6 separate regions of the Homo sapiens genome follow, and all the other regions are linked to region 5. Evidence: promoter capture Hi-C in 16 types of primary human blood cells and fetal thymus (Javierre and others, 2016). All regions are on one chromosome and are shown on one strand. The core of a region is centred on a gene start or on the middle of the fragment in contact, and the rest is flanking DNA. Distances in the headings are between cores, read along the strand shown. Region 1 overlaps PIGK (phosphatidylinositol glycan anchor biosynthesis class K). Region 2 overlaps PIGK (phosphatidylinositol glycan anchor biosynthesis class K). Region 3 overlaps PIGK (phosphatidylinositol glycan anchor biosynthesis class K). Region 4 overlaps AK5 (adenylate kinase 5). Region 5 holds the start of ST6GALNAC3 (ST6 N-acetylgalactosaminide alpha-2,6-sialyltransferase 3). Region 6 overlaps LOC105378808 (a long non-coding RNA gene).

Region 1 (2,941 bases), core at 273-2,772, 1.0 Mb before region 5:
CTATGCATTTTACTATATTTCATATTTGACATATTTAAATATTTGCTATATTTCAAAATAGTATTTGCCTTAGCTCTGTGTTTTTAAATTATCTTTTCCAGCTATAAGGAAGACCAGATGGATGAGAAACTAATGGAACCTCTGAAATATGCTGAACAACTTCCTGTAGCTCAGATAATACACCAGGTTTGCATTTCATTTTATTCTTTTGAAAGAAACAAGATTTTTAATCGCTGAGAAGTAATTGCTTTTGTTAGGTTTTTCAGAATCAATGTGCTATAGCTGAAAGGCATTCTGGGCTGTCTATCCCTATTTAGACTACCCCTATTACAGTTGAAAGTCCCATTCAAAGCACAATATTAAAAGGCTACTTGCTGTTTAACACTAGAATTCTTACTTACATAAAATATGGGATAAAATAAGGATTATCTTTTGTGCATTATTTAATTATAAAATTTAATTTCAGAAAACTTTCATTTTGACCCATTGTGTATAGTACTTAGTGACAAGGAAAAAGAGCTGCAAAAATATCATTGAGAGTAATTTTTTGGAGTCACTAAAAAGAGAAAACAATCTTGCCCTGCATCCTTTACCCTGCCCAATCATCAACCCTTGCAAAGTATAATTCTGCATGTCATGTGGGCAATTTGTTCATTTCCAATTATAATGATTTTATCATCCGTTCTACATAACTGTAATCATTGAGAAGGCAGTGTTGTAAGCATGTAAGCTTAGACTTTGTACTATAATTTGACAGCATATAACCTCTGCCCTGCTGTGCCAGAATCTAATAATTTTAAATGTTCTGTTGACTAGAGTTATAGCCTTTAGACCTAGCAGAGATTTCAGAAACTTACATATTATAGTAAATATTTAAAGCCCTTAAATGGCAGAGTTTCTCAGAATTGTTATGAATGTTGATTGTTATTGTGAGTTTTTCCATATGCCTTTTTCCATCAAAATAATTTTTATTTAGCTGATATGTATTGATTAGAAGTGCCAGTTAGAACTTTATTAAAAGAAACAGAGGCTTTTACTTTAAAATGTTGGCTATATATATTTTTCATTGACATTAAAATTTAATATTGCAATTCTGTGAGAAATTACAAAAAATGATCAGAAATTTACACCTTTGGGAAGCTCGTCTGTGCTTGGTAATCAGGTCCAGTTTATATGTCAGGAATTCCCTAGTGTTGTCAGAGCTTAAATGACCTAACAGTCTGCGAATGTCACATTTAAAATTCTGTCTTCATGCCTGACTCTCAGCATAAATGAATTAAACAGCAGAGCAGGCAGCAAGTCAATATGTTCTTAACAGTAAGAGTGAGCGATGAAACAGTTTGTGGTTTGCTCAGAATTGGTAAATAGAATCTGCCCAGAACAGTTCACCTAGAATAAAATCTGAAAGAGGAAACAAGAATTAACCTTTAAGATGGTTGACCAGATGAAATGTCAGTAATATTTTTATAGCATGGATGAACCAATAAACTACCTGGTTTATGTAACAGCTGCATTTGACTGTTATACACTGTGTGAATTCCAAGATAAAAAATTTTTGACCCTGGTGAAAATTTTAGATTGTGATTTTTTTGGCAGTACAAGAGACTTTGTTAATTTTAACACTGAATTACAAACATTATATTAAAATTCAGTAGCACTTGATTTTACTAAATACCTATCTTTAAGAAATTTTACACAATAGGAATTTATGTATTTTATTTTTATTGAATAAAATGAATTCTGTTCTCAGTTAAAGAATAGTCAGGACAGGTCATTGTTAATAGCAGACTCTTCATTTATTCCTTTTGTTATTTCCCTTTTTTGACAGTACTACAACTTAAGGACTGTTACCATTAGCCGGTCCAACTGGTCTTTTAGAAACATAAGAGTTACGTTGCCAGAAATTAACTGATAAGTCCGTTATTTAAAAGCAAATTTTGGCCGGGCACGTGGTATCCCATGCCTATAATCCCAGCCCTTTGGGAGGCTGAGGTGGATGGATCACTTGAGCCCAGGAGTTCAGGACCAGCCCGGGCAACATAACAAAACCCTATGTCTACAAGTAATACAGAAAATTAGCTGGGCTTAGTGGTGCGTGCCTGTAGTCCCACCTACTCGGGAGGCTGAGGTGGGACTATCTCCTGGGCCTGGGATCCAGATTGAGGCTACAGTGAGCTGAGATTGTGGCACTGCACTCCAGTCTGGGTGACAGAGTGAGACCCTGTCTTGATAAATAAATGAATGCATGCAACTTTTTTCCTAAGAGAACAGTAATACATGTGATAATTAGGTTAGCTAGTTTCACAAAAGCTTTTTGATCTATATCTAAATTATAGCATTATTGTAGTGTATAATCTCCCCCTGTAACTATTTTCATGAGAAATAATCTTATACTTTACCTACACCTGTTTAGGAGCTCATGTCATTTCTATTTAAAATAGAGTTACTTATTTTTATGTCTTATATATCCTATTTTATCATCTTTCTGGACAGTCTCAGTTTCTTGATATTTCTTTTAGCATCTTGCTTTGTACTATGTATACATATCTCTAAATGGATAGATAACGTATAGATAAATGGATAGATAACGTATTTTTAATGGTATGTTGAAAGCCAGGACCACCTCTTTTCCCTACTACCCAGGCACCAGAAGCCAAGGACTCTCACTAGTAGCACAACTTAGAAGCTGCAGGAGAGATGGAGGCTTTCAAAGCAGGGACAGAGGCTGAAACAGAAGGAGAAACTTGAGAAACAGAAGAGAGAGGAATGAGCATCAGTCATTTCAGTAATTCATTTATTGTGTGTGATATTTAAACTGCTTTTTACAATCAGGAGATAGGATTCTCACTACTACCATTTTATGCTGTCAAATTATTTACCATTTTTCTAGCCATCCTAGAAAATATGACTGTATACCTAGGAAACCCAGGAGACTCAAGTT
Region 2 (3,006 bases), core at 6-2,505, 1.1 Mb before region 5:
TTGGGTCACAGCTGTTAACTTTTATTTGTTAGAAAGCTGATTTCTCAGGGCTTAATCAAAAAAATCAAAATTTAATAATAAAAATTTTTTGAATAATGCCAAAGTGGACCTAAAAAGTCAAAGTAAGGTTATTTTTGTGAGCTTTTATTAAATTAATATAGTAAATATTGTTTAAAGTATGTTTTTCTACAGATGTTATAGATAAATTACTATCAAGTAATTAAAGATTTTCATTTTGAAATTATTTTTCTCATAAAAATAAAGGAAAATCAGGGGACTTACCAACATTGACGAGCTGTATTATGCTCCATCTTTCTCTGCTTTAAATTCATTCATTATATACAAAGTTCTTGTTATACTCAAAGATATTCCAGGCTTGGTACTTTCTTTAATTTGATGAAATTGTGACTTATTATTCTGAAAGTACTTTTACTAAGGGAAGCGTGCAGCTTATATTGTATGGAATGCCTTTTTCAGTTCCTTCATTTTAACTTCAATATTAAGAGCCGTTCTCTGTTCCTTATCTGATGGCATCAGCTTCTAATATTAATATGTTCTAGTATGATTTCCCAAGAAGTAAAGAGCAGACAAAATAATGAAATATAAGAGTTCTTAGGATATGATCTCAGAATACCTATGTCACATGATAACTAAGTGTGCTGGCTGAGAATTATATTGTACTACACTGCAAGTAGTAATGGACTTAGTTTGCTTGGCCTGAACTATATTGCCAGCCAGAGATTCAGAGATACTTGGTAAGCAGTTTAAACTGGGTTTTATTAAAATTAATATATCTAATTTTTATAATGTTTATTTCTTTATAGCAAAGATGTGTATATTTAGAGCATGTATATTGAGAGATGGAGCAAGAAAATAGTATTTTATATTTCTCTTAGGTGATTTAAAGATTGCATGCTTTATAGCAATCTTTGGTACTTTTCCTTTAAGGTACTGAAACAGGTGATAAGGAACTATACAGTGTGACATACAGTTGTAACTACTGTAATTGCTATGCATAAGCAAGGTATTTTAAAAGCTTATATCTAACTAAAGGGAAAGCTCTAACTTATGCTTTAAAAAATAAGTGATATTCACAATGATTTCTCTTTTGCATGTAAAAACACTGATACGTATCTTCTAAATCATAGAAAATGATTAAAATTAATCTTGTATGGTTTTAGTGTCAAATGTAGTGGTTTTTTTTGTTTTGTTTTTCTGCTATTTCTTTGAAAGTTAGATATAGTAAAACCTTGAATATCCAGAAATTAGGTAACTTCTGGTAATAAAAGAGTACATGACGTTCCCATGAGTTAACACTAAATATGAAAAAACCCACTTTTACCTTAGATGTTGTATTAGGTTGTTCTTGCACTGCTATAAAGAAATACCTGAGACTGGGTAATTGGCTTATTGTTCTGCAGTCTGTACAGGAAGCATAGGGGTATCTACTTTTGGGGAGGCGTCAGGAAGCTTCCAATTATGGTAGAGGGCAAATGGGGAACAGGCACATCATATGGTGAGAATAGGAATGAGAACCGGAGCAAGTGTAAGTGAGCGGGGCAGGGGGGTTGGGGGAGAGTAAGAGAGTGAGAGCAAGAGAGAGAGGGAGGGAGGAAGGCAAGGGTTTGGGAGAGAGTGCAAGAGAGAAAGAGTGAGTGAGTGTGAGCATGCACTGGGGAGGTGCCACACACTTTTAAACGACCATATCTTGCGGGAACTCACTCACTATGGTGAAGACAGCACCAAGCCATGAGGGATCTGCCCTCATGACCCAAACACCTTCCATCAGGCACCACCTCCAGCATTGGGGATTACAGTTCAACCTGATATTTGAGCAGGGACAAATATCTAAACTATATCAGATATAAAAATACAGCTTGAATTCAGTAGCCTTTGGCATTCATAGTTTCACATTTCATTAGAAGGAAACATTTCTCAATAAAAGAACACCCTGTAATATTAGAATGAGATACAACATTTCACTTTCTCGGAACAAAAAATTAATGTAAATGAGTTTAGAGGGATGGTTTGAAGTTAATAATAAAGAATAATCAATTGACTTCACTTTTGTAATGTTGCTGACAGGATTTTTCTGAAAATTATTCCGTTACAAGATACCTAGATGCACTATAAATTATATTTTAAAAAGATCTTTTTAAATGCTTAGCTGAGCTGCCAAGAAAGTAAGTGTGTAGAGACAAACAACATTTGATGAATAGCATTGCTGGCTTCTTCCACATTGAAGCAGAGCTGGTGGCACCCCCTCATTCAGTGGTAAGGACTACATGGGTTCTACTTCCTACAGTGTTTCTAGATAGTAACAGCTGGTGTTCTAAACATGCAGCTTCCCTGAGCAGTTGGCAGCAAGCTCAGACTGTCTCCTTTTGCAAGGACAGTATAGATTTACTTTAAAAAGCGGGAGTGTCTATGGGAGCCCTTTCTTGCTTTAGGGCTCTCATGTGATTTAGGGTTGTAATTTCCTCCTTGATCCAACCCATGGTGTTTCCAGCTGCACCTTCATCTAAAGAAACCTTTACAGGGGACTGTGTGACTTATCCTGCTATTGGTCTTTTTATCTAGTAGCAGAAAGTATTCGCAGGAGCCTATTGCTGAACAGTGGCTTGCAACAGAGGAAGCTCCACTTTGCTCAACAGTAGGGAAATCTCTTGGGAAAAAACACATAGACGCTAAAACTCAAGTGCCGAATGAATGTGGAAGGCAGGACGGCCTAACATGTACTAATATAGAAACCTAGAGTTTTGAGTTAGAATGGCTTTGTGTGAGGGTTAGGAGAAAAGACTGTGGATCCATTTGTTGACAGTTGAGCTTAAGACCTCTACATAAAACCATTAACTTCTAAGGCTTTACCCTCAATCAGAGAGTGGGCTGGAATAAAATCTAACAGCCTGAGGGGAAGAAAATGAGGACGTTTCTCTTGCCTTGGCTAGAGATATGGGGGTAAAAGAGGCTTCCCTGGGAATATGTAATCAGTCATACTCTCATGTG
Region 3 (3,031 bases), core at 473-2,972, 1.1 Mb before region 5:
AAACCATGTAGTTCCTTTCTGTTTGTCAGGGGCAAGAACACTTATGCTGTTCTCAAAATTGTCATTATACCTACTAAAGGCACAGGCATGTGATAGAAGCCGGGATTGTACTTGGTAGATATATTACCAAGTGACCCCAATCTATATTTACCTACCTTAGAATGGGTTCTGAACAACACTAACTTTTGAGGCATGGAATTAGATTTTCCTAGCACCTTTAATATAATTCTCAGGAATTTTTTTAAACTATAAAACTTGGTTGGATTGTTTCTAATTTTCTCTTGAGTTCAATAGCTTCTTTATAATGCACTCTCTTATGTACATTTACAACTGTTTTATATGTTATGTTTTATCCTGTGTCCTACGTTTCTCACAATAAAGGAAGCAATGTGGAATGAAACAAATATTGTATAACCCTATGTAGCTAATTTTCTTCTCTATTCTGTGAAGAAATTATGGGCATTGTCTTTGATTCTAAAGAATTTAATTTTTTAGAAATAGGAATGTTACTGAGTCACAGAAATTGTGATAACTAAGTTGGTTCAGTATTTGATTTAATTTCCCAAAGATATGCTTTCTCTTAAGCTGAATGGTTTTTTAAAATCTAATACTAGTTATGAAAGACTTCTCTTTGGAGCGATTAGTTTTACTGACAATTCTTTTTTTGTTGAGACAGAGTCTTGCTCTGTCGACAAGGCTGGAGTGCAGTGGTGCCATCTCCACTCCCTGCAACCTCCACCTCCCAGGTTTAAGCGATTCTCATGCCTCAGCCTCCCAAGTAGCTGCAACTACAGGTGCACGCCACCACACCTGGGTAATTTTTGTATTTTTAGTAGAGGTGGGGTTTTGCCATGTTGGCCAGGCTGGTCTCGAACTCCTGGACCCAAGTGATCTTCCCGCCTGGGCTTCCCAAAGTGTTGGTATTACAGGCATGAGCCACTGTGCCTGGCCTTTACTGACAATTTTTTGTGTTTGCTGTTTTAAAGCCTGAATTATGGCATACTGTTTCTTAGAGATCTCTGTATCCTACTTAAAGAAAAATACTCTGCAGCTCCATGGTTAGCCTTGATGCATAAAAATTCTGTTTTTGTTTTAATACTTCAGGTGTGTACATCCCGATTCTGGTTTAATTATCGACATGTTGCAAATACCCTTTCTGTTTATAGAAGTGTCAAGAGGCTAGGTATTCCTGACAGGTAAGAAGCCTTAATAAAGCTTAACCTTGAACTTCAGTGAAAATAACCCTTAGATAATTGTTATTATATTTGTATTTTGTGTTACTTTTGAAAAAGGTAAAAAAAAAAATCTGATTTGAAGATTTTTTGTTCTCATTAGAGCATACTACCATGTATAAATTAGATGTTACTTAAGACCATAATGACAAATTATATAAAAGAACAAATGCTAAGGTAAAAAGATTGGATAAAATATAATTATTTAGTGTAATGTATTTAATTAGTAAATGGCTCAGTCAGGGTTTTTAATTGCAGATAATGGAGTGCAATTCTGATTGATTCAAGTGGAAAAGGGATTTATTGAAAGCATATTGATTACCTTGCCAAATTAGTGAGAAGGTTGTATCCTTTAATAGCCAGGAACAAGGAAGCCTAGATATTAGAAGAGACATAGCAAAAAAATGACCTAAAACAGTCTGGTGACAATAATGGAGCTGCAAATTGCTGAAGCCTAGACTCAGCTACTGCATAGCTGCTACTGTTTGTTTCCTTTTGAAACTTAATGTTGCTATTGCCTCCTGCTGCCAAAATTTGAACTTTGCTGTCCCAACTTCTTACTGTCTCTCTTATAGAGGTCTTGGTGGGAATGTTATATTGGTAAAGTCTAGGTTCAGCACCCATGTCTGTGCTGCAGGGTGACTGGAAGAGCTAGTATATGGCATTATTAGCCTCTATATAGGAAGGTGGGCTTTGCTTTATATGAAGACTCGTAAAGTGGGAATTTTCCTACTTGTAGGGAGTGAGTTTAGGTAATAGGCGGTATCCCCACACCTTCACTCAGAGCATGTCTTCTACATTGTTTTGTCCATGATAGATTTGTTTTTCCTACTACCAAAGCAGCTATAGCAAGAAACTGTAGTCAATTCAGTTATTTAGGTTTGATTTATTTAGTACCAGTGAGTCAGTGTGGAAAGAGCCTTGTAGTTAGATATGACTTTGAAATCTGGCTTTAATGGTGATTTTTCTTTAAGTCACTTTACCATAATAAGCTTGTTTCTCATTTGTTACATGGTAATAATAGTACCTTCTTTCAGGATTCAAGTACTTCCAGTAAAAACAAATAAGAGTTATGCATAAAGTGCTGCAGGAACAGAAAGGAAGCAGTGAATGACTGAGGAAACAAAGTTATATTACAGTCTTTGTGAATAGATCATTTCAGTCTGAGTAACTGACAAAACTATAATTTCCATATTTCATCTGGAAATCATGGCAACTAGATAATATTACTATTTTAAAATTACATTAAGTCTGAGAAGGAGGTTGATTTGTTATATCAAGTGTATAGATATAATTCTTGTCATTTGTCAATTGGTTTTTCTCAAATAGGCCTATGTAGTTAGCTTTTGGTCTTTAACGGCTCTTGCGTCTATACTGGATATACTCTTCTAGAGAATCACTATGCATGGCTTGGCAATAGTTTTTCTTTGGTAAATTAATCTTTCTTCTATGAGTCAATCATTAAGATATATTTAAATGATTTAAGTTAGATTTGGAAGGAGTTTTTAGGAATAGACAATAGCAATAGGATGTATTTTGTATATTATGTTTAGTAGGTTTGTCCTTAGGTTTCTGAAGAATGTTATTTAAAAGCTTATTTCTGTTTCAAATAATTGCTTATCTATAACTGTGTTTATGAAGTCTTTGTAGTGGGGTAATTAAGGATTTAAACAGTTGGTGATTTAAGCCATTTGTTATTTAATAAATAGAAATCAATAGAAAAGATTCTGCTCAGCTAGTATTGGGTAAATAAATAAATGTATGATTTGGAAATATTTTATCAGTTGTGCAAAGCAAAC
Region 4 (2,941 bases), core at 349-2,848, 1.5 Mb before region 5:
GTTAAGTAGGACTGTAAAAATTAATCAAATGAAATGTGTAAAGCATCAAGTTCAGTTTCTGGCGCATTGTAAGTACTCAAAAAATAATTACTATTCCTATGTTCTGTATGATTTTAACTAAGCAAAAACAGGCAGAACAAAGCTTGGGGAGAACATACATTAAATATTAATAGGTATTATCACTGGGTGGTTAGTTATTCTTTGTTTTATATTTTTGTGTATTGTTTCATACTATATAATTTTTATTTCTATAGTCAGAAAAAATACACATTATTAAAAAAACTGTAAAGACTTATTGAACACCATATGTAGGCTTATAAGTGTGTAAAGGCACTTGTCAAGGATCCCATCCAATCTTCCCAACAATCACTGAGGTATGTATTTCCAACCAACATTTTGTAGAAGAGGAGAAGGAGATCTACAAAGTTAGCTGACTTGCTTACCAGCCAATGAATTACAAAGCCAGGCTCCAAATACAGGCCTGTTCACACCAGAGTCACTATAACCAGGGGTTCTCAGCTGGAGTGGGGAATGAGGATGGTGATCAGAAACCCTGACTCCTCCCTCATATTCCTTCTGCCTCATTACACACATCTACATGCATACATGCATTACATACATGTACATATACACAGCCCCTCCCCCAGTAATCATTCTGTAAACTGAAGGTATAGGTTGTAATTCAACAGGGATAAAACCAGCTTGGGGAATAGAAGATAGGAAGGTAACAGAAACCACACATAGACTTACCCTTAAGCTGTGGACATTAGTTTGCATTTGATTTTTAGCGATGTCATATGCAGTGTCCAAGGAAATCCTCAAAGGACCTTGTATCTCGGAGAACTCAGCTACAGGTATGCAAAAGTGTCAGCCTAACTAACTGAATTTTTAAAGGAACTGATGGTCCAATGCATCGGACGCATCAATCTCGGTGACACAGAAAGGCTGGTGAGATTTTTGTGGGCTGGTTAAAACCTCTCCAGGCTTGAATGGACCTCAAACATAGTTGCAGGCCTGATGCACTAGGGGAAATACTATGCTTTCAACCAAGCTGATTACTTTGAATCTCTGGGGAAAATCAGATGTCTGCATTTGTCTTTGTCAAATTTCAAATGAATTTCTTGCTTGTAATTTGGAGGGGAGCTACAAATGAAGGGCCCTGCAGGGCATTAAGGAGTCAACAGTAGCTCATTCTGTGTTTGTAGCATCTTTGTTCATCTGGTCAGGTTTTATTATTATTATTATTATTTGAGATGGAGTTTCACTCTGTTGCCCAGGCTGGAATGCAGTGGTGCGATCTTGGCTCACTGCAACCTCTGCCTCCTGGGTTCAAGCGATTCTCCTGCCTCAGCCTCCCAAGTAGCTGGGATTACAGGCATGTGCCACCACGTCCCGCTAATTTTGTATTTTTAGTAGAGACGGGGTTTCGCCATGTTAGTCTGGCTTGTCTCAAACTCCTGACCTCAGGTGATCTGCCCGCCTCGGCCTCCCAAAGTGCTGGGATTACAGGCGTGAGCCACCGTGCCCGGCCATCTGGTCAGGTTTAAAGCAGGAGCTCATTCTGGAGGGCTGGATGTGTTCTCTTGCACACCTGCTTAATTGATACTAGAATCTTCTAAAGTTACTGTACCCAGGGACAAATCAATGTCACTCTTGGTCTCTGTAAGTTCCTCCTAGCAGTATGTAAGAAATCATCTTTGTAGATGTCTAAAATCTCACTTAACGGTTGTATGCTCAGTAATGAAATGTGTTACCTGTGTGTTGTTTGAAATGGAATCATGAATTTTAGCATTGAGTGTAACTGTCCAGTCACCATGTTGATGACTTTCTTGTTCCTTAGTTCTAGTTAGGCTTCTTCTCTGCCACATTCTAAAACCGGTCTGAACGGGGACCACAGTGGGAGAGGAAGTTTTTTGCTTTACTTTAGGGAAGATCACATGGACCATTTGAATTCATACTTACGCCAGAGGACAGACCAATGGGCTGCATAGAGCTCTGAGCTCACCCTAACTGGGTTTTAAGCAAAGGAGGAAGTGGTGATGGAGCAGGAATTTTAGAGGCTTGTATGAGGTGTGATTAACAAATGAGTGATGCTAAACTAGATAATATTTTATAAACTTTTATAGCTTAGAAGACATTTATGCATGTTATATGATCTGATGTTTACAAAACCTTTTAAATAGGTGTTAACAGGTATTATTATCTCCATAATAAATGACAGGTGAAAACCTAGATTTTCTGACTCCAGAGTACACGAGTGACATGCTTTTAATGATTCCACCTTGGGAAGGTCCAGGGTTGTCATTGCTCAAAATGATGTGGAACCCCATAGGCGTTAAGTTCTGGGGTTTGCCTTCAGACTCAATTTTAAAATTCCCCAAAGAAGAATAAGGATTATAATTTAATTTTGTTGTTGTTGACCGAGAGAGAGAGAGAGACCTTATTTATTTACTATACATCTTGTCCTCGATCATTTGAGGGTTTCAAGAGAATGTTCTACCACCTCTCAGAGCAATTAAAAAAAAAAAAAGACTTGGCCAGGCGAGGTGGCTCAAGCCTGTAATCCCAGCACTTTGGGAGGCTGAGAGGGCAGATCACGAGGTCAGGAGATCAAGACCATCCTGGCTAACACGGTGAAACCCCATCTCTACTAAAAATACAAAAAATTAGCCAGGTGTGGTGGCGGGCGCCTGTAGTCCCAGCTACTTGGGAGGCTGAGGCAGGAGAATGGCGTGAACCCGGGAGGCAGAGCTTGCAGTGAGCCAAGATCGCACCACGGCACTCCAGCCTGGGCGACAGAGCGAGACTCCGTCTCAAAAAAAAAAAAAAAAAAAAAAAAAAAAGACTTTTATTCCCATCGCTTCCAAACATGCGCAGGACCTGTCCTGACTTTCCTGGAGGGTCTCTCAGAGCTCTTCTAACCTTAAGTTCAAGGGCAAGG
Region 5 (3,009 bases), core at 444-2,943:
AAAGCCCACATTAGTTTCAGTGGAGGGAAGATAAGGTGGACAGATATGTCCCAAATGTCTGAAAGCAGTGTGAAGTGCTAGAAGAGAAAGATTGGACCAGATTCATGTGTAGTTTGGGATGTGCATTAAAGATGTTTACCACATGTATAGGACAAGGCAGGGGAGAAACCAAAACAGAAAAAGATGGCCAGCAATAAATATCATGCTCCTCAATGTCCCTTTCAGCAAATAACACAATGAATAGTAAAGATGACTCATATTCATATTTCAGTCCTTGTGCTAAGAGCCTCCCGGTCAAATACCCCATACTGTAATACTGATGTATTATTTCCTCATGTCCTGGAAAATGTTCTGAAACAAAAAGAGGAAGTTCAGAAAGCTCACAGGAAACTTCTGATCTCCTTTACGCAAAGAAGGGGAAACAACTTCTACGAGGTTAGTCTCTTATTTTCATCATTGACACCAGGCACGTTAGAAGACGATTCAGGTAACCAGAACACAGTAGATGACTTAATATCATCTTATAGAGAAATAAATGCTACTTCACAATAACACAACAACAACGAATTGTTTCCTGGTATTTTCCATCGTCACACAGTTCCCCCAGGCTTGGACAACTAGGTCTCTGCATTCTCCAGTCAAGGCCCAGGAAACTTTCATGCTGTTCATGTTTTTGATTCATGCATCCAGGTTATGTTCTTGTAGAAAGGTAGTGCAAAAAAAAAAACGAGGGCAGGGGAGGCCTCTACCAGTGGGATGGAAAGTTCTTTTTAAGTGAGGCCCTCACACCAAGTTCTCCCACCTGAGGCCACAAGTCTGTGAACCCAGAAAGATGCTCAGGTGAGGCTAAGAATCCGGTCTTGGAGAAAGAAAACTCAACAAAGAAGGGATGGCTGAGCGCACTCTGGCAGAGCATAAAATCATTTTGTCTATTCAAATTTATGAGCATAAAGAGAGTGAGAGGTTCTCTACTAACATATACATCCTCGTGTGAACTTTTCCAAAGTAGAGCTAAGGGCAAACAGAGCTAGCAGATCTCATAGAAAACTCATTCCTAAGGGACTACCTGTAAACTCAGAAGTTTCTGTCTTCACATGATCAAATGCACAGTAGAGCCCACCTCCGCTCACTCTTCCCTCCATTTAAAGCGCTATGCCCCTCACCACCAGCAACTCACGCCTAGCCACTCCACCCCTCCCCGTGGCCCCTGAAAGGCCTCAGGCTCCACAGAGCCGCGGGACCCGCGGGAACACCCCTCCTCTCCCTACCATCCCCATTATTCGGCACACAGCCCTGCTCTCCCCTGGAGCCAACAGTCTGCAGCTCCTTCAATGCAGGCGCGAGCAGGAGGCAGGAATGGTGGGAAAAGAAGCTGTGCCAGCTGCATGTTTCAGAATCTCCCTCCATATGCATTTGCCAAAGGAACAAAAAGAAAATCAATGCCAGGAAAAGACAACTGAGATGAGGATGCGGTGGGACCGCGGCTGACTCCGTGCCTCTGAGCAGCAAGGGGCTGGCCAACCACGCGTCCGAGCCACAGATCCAAGTCGTTACCTTCAGGATGCAGGCCATGGCGCTCCGCCGGCCCTCCTGCCACCGAGCAGCGGGCGCGCCTGGGTCAGGGGCAGTCCTGGGGGCAGGCTGGAGGCTGGTACCACGGCAGGACCTCTCCAGCCCACATTCCCGCAGATCCAAATAAGGGGACCGCGGTGTAAGCTGCGCCGCCACAGACCCCGCCCCCCGAGCCGCGGCCCCGCCCCCGTCCCCATCCACTGGCCCGCGGCCCGCGCGGCCCCGCCCCCGGGTCACGTGCCGTCCTGGGCGCCGGCGCCGGCGGCTCCTCAGTGCCTGCTACTTCTTTCTCTTGTTTTCTTCTGTGAACCTTTCGCGGCTCGACGTGCGCAGAGTGCGCTCTGCAGCAGGCGGGGACCTGGGTCCCGCGGGGGGCAGAGTACGGCCTTTTCTTCTCGGTTCCGTCTCCTCTCACACATCAGAGAACTCCTTTTTACAGACGTTTCACACTTTGTCAAAGTTGAGTGGGTTTGGCATCGCCCTTCTGGAGACTTTGGGCACATCAAAGGGCTTTTCAAAAGTAGCAACGAAGTTCTCCCTGGGCTGTTCAAGGATTGAGCCTTCACTCTGTGATGGGCTTATCTAAAATTAATAATTTACCGCTAATAAGTGAGCACAAATATCAACGAAAGAAAGACGTCATGAACCTTACACTCTGTATGGTATATTTTGTGTGTGTGTACATATTTTACATATACATGTATGTGTGTATAATATATAAATTATTGCCTTTTCCTGGTACAAGCTTGTTTATGAAATTGTATATGCATGATATACAGTATACAGATACAGGATGCACACATGTGTATATTGTATTATATATGTACATGTTGATTGTACAGTATATGTTTATAAACTGTGTATGTGTACATGATAGGACTTTGCTCTTCCCTGCTCCAAGCAAGAGCCGGCTAAGAGAAGCAGTTATTTCTACAAGGAGAGTAAACGCATTGCAGAAGGGAGAGAGCATTCCGTGTACACACACAGATTTTTACCACTTGGTCTGTCAGAAAAATTTTAAAAGCGGCCCCCAAATATCTACCCAAAAGAAGTTTCACTTGCTAGAAGCTCCGTCTAGTTTGCCTCCATGGAATCAGGAAAAGCACTGTGGGCTGGTGGTGTCATGAGATTGGCTCACAAACCACAAGGCAGAATCCAGGCTTTCAAGGAATTTGGTATTTTCTTGATGAGAACATGCAGAATTCTTAGAGAGCAGGAGTAACCACAGGAAGGAGGTTGCAGAAGCTGAGCCTGTGGATGAACTGCCTGTCCCATGGGAAGCTCCTGTCTTCAGTCTCCCTGGAATACCACACCCTGCTCTTCGACTTCTTCCTCCCGCCCCTCCCTCCTCTGCCTTACAGATCCGGTGTGTTTTTAGTAAGAATTCTTTGTTTGGGACTATATACTTTAAACCGCTGCTTTAGCTCATGGTCCTTC
Region 6 (2,970 bases), core at 459-2,958, 1.1 Mb before region 5:
TAGTTAAACGTAAAATTAACACAAAATAAAACTAGTAAAAAATAAATATTAGAAATGTGCCACCCGCAGATGTTTGCATCGCTAGTTCTTTCTTGTCATTCAGGTCTCAGATTTCACACCACCTTTGCAGAGAGGTTTTCACTGACCACCTCACTGAAGTAGTGTCTCCCTCTCCCTTCAGTTTCTGTCATCTTACCTTATTTGTATCACCATGAGAATTTATTGTATTCATTTTTCTTTTTTCTTATTGTCTGTTTTCCTTACTGGAATGTAAGGTTCGTGAGAGCAAGAACCTCCTATGTATTTCCAGCTACAATATCCTGGTATGTTATGTCAACTAAAGAAAAAAAAACAGGCTTTTAAATAATTAAAGTTAATTTTATTCAGAAGTCCTACTGAGTACTGCAACCTGGGAGAATCTTTCAAAGAGTTTGTTATATTGCTGCAAAGCATTGATTCACCCCATAGCTTAAACATAGGTGGTGGTTGCTCTGCATGTGTTAAGAAGTTACATCAAATGTGCTCAGAAATTACATTAATGACATGGTTTGGCTGTGTCCCCACTCAAATCTCATCTTGAATTGTAGCTCCCATAATCCCCATGTGTCAATGGTAGGACCCGGTGGGAAGTAATTTAATCATGGGGGCAAGTTTTTCCCCTGCTGGTCTCATGATAGTGAATAAATCTCAGGAAATCTGATGGTTTCATAAAGGGCAGTTCCTCCGCACATGCTCTCTCTCTTGCCTTGCTGCCAGGTAAGATGTGTCTTTGCTCCTCCTTTGCCTTCTGTCACGATTGTGAGGCCTCCCCAGCCATGTGGAACTGTGAGTCCACTGAACCTCTTTTTCTTTATAAATTACCCAGTCTTGGCTATTTCTTCACAGTAGTATGAAAATGGACTAATACAGTAAATTGGAACTGAGGTAGTGGGGCTCTGCTATAAGGTTAACAGAAAATGTTGAAGCAACTTTGGAACAGGGTAACAGGCAGAGGTTGGAACAGTTTGGAGGGCTCAGAAGAAGACAGGAAAATGTGGGAAACTCTGGAACTTCCTAGAGACTTGGAGGGCTCAGAAGACAGAAAGATGTAGGAAAGTTTGGAACTTCCTAGAGACTTGTTGAATGGCTTTGATCAGAAGGCTAATAGGGATACGGACAAAGAAGTCCAGGCTGAGGTGGTCTCAGATGGAGATGAGGAACTTGTTGGGAAATGGAATAAAGGTCACTCTTGCTATGCTTTAGCAAAGAGACTGGTGGCATTTTGCCCCTGCCCTAGTTATCTGTGGAACTTTGAACTTTAGAGAGATGATTTAGGGTACCTGAGGGAAGAAATTTCTAAGTGGCAAAGCGTTCAAGAGGAAGCAGAGCATAAAAGGAAAACTTGCAGCCTGATGACGTGATAGAAAAGAAAAACCCATTTTTTGCGGAGAAATTCAAGCCTGCTGCAGAAATTTGCATAAGTAACAAGAAGCCACATGTTAATTACCACGACAATGGGAAAAATGTCTCCAGGGCATGTAAGAGGTCTTCCTGGAAGTCCCTCTCATCACAAGCCAGGAGGCCAAGGAGGAAAAATGGGTTTATGGGCTGGGCCCAGGGCCTTGCTGCTTTGTGCAGTCTCAGGCTGCTCACATGTGATATTGGGACTGTGGGTGCACGGAAGTCAAGAATTGAGGTTTGGGAACCCTGCCTAGATTTCAGAGGATGTATGGAAACACCCGGATGTTCAGGCAGAGGTGTGCTGCAGGGGCAGGGCCCTCATGCACGACCTCTGCTAAGGCAGAAGGGCAATGCAGAAGGGAAATGTGGGGTGGGATCCCCCACACAGAGTCCCCACTGGGGCAGTGCCTAGTGGAGCTGTGAGAAGAGGGCCACCATCCTCCAGACCCCAGGATGGTAGATCCACCAACAGCTTGCAGCATATGCCTGGGAAAGCCAGAGACACTCAATGCCAGCCTGTTAAAGCAGCTGGGAAGGAGGCTGTATCTTGCAAAGCCACAGGGGCAGAGCTGCCCAAGACCATGGCAACCTACCTCTTGTATCAACGTGAACTGGATGTGAGACACGGAGTCAAAGCAGATCATTTTGGAGCTTTAAGATTTGACTGCCCTGCTGGATTTTGGACTTGCATGGGCCCTGTAGTCCCTTCATTTTGGCCTATTTCTCCCATTTGGAATGGGTGTATTTACCCAATGCTTGTACCCCCATTGTATTTAGGAAGTAACTTAACTTGCTTATGATTTTACAAGCTCATAGGCAGAAGGGACTTGCCTTGTCTCAGATGAGACTTTGGACTGTAGACTTTTGAGTTAATGCTGAAATGAGTTAAGACTTTGGGGGACTGCTGGTAAGGCATGATTGCTTTTGAAATGTGAGGACAGGAGATTTTGGAGGGGCCAGGGTGGAATGATATGGTTTGGCTGTGTCCCAACCCAAATCTCATCTTGAATTGTAGCTCCCATAATCCCCAAGTGTCAAGGGAGGGACCTGATGGGAAGTAATTTAATTATGGGATCAGTTACCCTCATGTTGTCATGGTAGTGAGTTCTCACGAGCTCTGATGGTTTTATTTATCTATCTATTTATTTATTTTTATTTTATTTCATTTTATTTTTTGAGACAAAGTCTGGCTCTGTTGCCCAGGCTGGAGTACAGTAGCGTGATCTTGGCTCACTGCAACCTCTGCCTCCCAGGTTCAAGCGATTCTCCTGCCTCAGCCTCCCTAGTAGCTGGTATTACAGGCATGTGCCCCCACACTGAGCTAATTTTGAAACATGGGGTTTTGCCATGTTGGCCAGGCTGGTCTTGAATGCCTGACCTCAGATGATCTGCCTGCCTCGGCCTCCCAAAGTGCTAGGATTACAGGTGTGAGCCACTGCACCTGGCCTCTGATGGTTTTATAAAGGGTAGTTCCTCTGCACATGCTCTCTCACCTGCTGCCATGTAAGATGTGCCTTTGCTCCTTCTTCA

The links. Contacts are between HindIII fragments. The CHiCAGO score rates a contact against its expected background, and 5 or more counts as called.
Region 1: a fragment that was not itself captured here is called in contact with the fragment with the promoter of ST6GALNAC3 in region 5 in 4 of 17 cell types (M2 macrophages, M0 macrophages, naive CD4 T cells and 1 more); the score reaches 9.8 in M2 macrophages.
Region 2: a contact is called between a fragment that was not itself captured here and the fragment with the promoter of ST6GALNAC3 in region 5, in 11 of 17 cell types (monocytes, total CD4 T cells, megakaryocytes and 8 more). The highest score is 12.9, in monocytes.
Region 3: a fragment that was not itself captured here is called in contact with the fragment with the promoter of ST6GALNAC3 in region 5 in 2 of 17 cell types (fetal thymus and monocytes); the score reaches 7.6 in fetal thymus.
Region 4: a fragment that was not itself captured here is called in contact with the fragment with the promoter of ST6GALNAC3 in region 5 in 1 of 17 cell types (M0 macrophages); the score reaches 7.7 in M0 macrophages.
Region 6: a contact is called between a fragment that was not itself captured here and the fragment with the promoter of ST6GALNAC3 in region 5, in 3 of 17 cell types (fetal thymus, monocytes and M1 macrophages). The highest score is 10.5, in fetal thymus.

What each region holds. Positions count from the first base shown.
Region 1 is chr1:77,119,520-77,122,460 of GRCh38, reverse strand. PIGK (phosphatidylinositol glycan anchor biosynthesis class K) reads left to right here. Exons shown (of 11, transcript NM_005482.3): 10 at 102-186. Among named protein-coding and RNA genes, the nearest start is that of MIR7156, 61 kb to the right of the region's middle. The HindIII fragment of the contact is 1,580 bases long and covers 733-2,312 here.
Region 2 is chr1:77,138,900-77,141,905 of GRCh38, reverse strand. The region is part of intron 9 of PIGK (phosphatidylinositol glycan anchor biosynthesis class K); the gene reads left to right. Among named protein-coding and RNA genes, the nearest start is that of PIGK, 79 kb to the left of the region's middle. The HindIII fragment of the contact is 434 bases long and covers 1,039-1,472 here.
Region 3 is chr1:77,204,805-77,207,835 of GRCh38, reverse strand. PIGK (phosphatidylinositol glycan anchor biosynthesis class K) reads left to right here. Exons shown (of 11, transcript NM_005482.3): 3 at 1,105-1,196. Among named protein-coding and RNA genes, the nearest start is that of PIGK, 13 kb to the left of the region's middle. The HindIII fragment of the contact is 1,009 bases long and covers 1,218-2,226 here.
Region 4 is chr1:77,526,368-77,529,308 of GRCh38, reverse strand. The region is part of intron 12 of AK5 (adenylate kinase 5); the gene reads right to left. Among named protein-coding and RNA genes, the nearest start is that of ZZZ3, 150 kb to the left of the region's middle. The HindIII fragment of the contact is 2,907 bases long and covers 145-2,941 here.
Region 5 is chr1:76,073,430-76,076,438 of GRCh38, reverse strand. It overlaps ST6GALNAC3 (ST6 N-acetylgalactosaminide alpha-2,6-sialyltransferase 3), which reads right to left and starts at 1,693. Exons shown (of 5, transcript NM_152996.4): 1 at 1,555-1,693. The coding sequence starts at 1,572. RefSeq lists a silencer at 1,693-1,892. The HindIII fragment of the contact is 5,160 bases long and covers 1-2,319 here.
Region 6 is chr1:77,221,243-77,224,212 of GRCh38, reverse strand. The region is part of intron 2 of LOC105378808 (a long non-coding RNA gene); the gene reads right to left. Among named protein-coding and RNA genes, the nearest start is that of PIGK, 3.3 kb to the right of the region's middle. The HindIII fragment of the contact is 4,293 bases long and covers 1-2,970 here.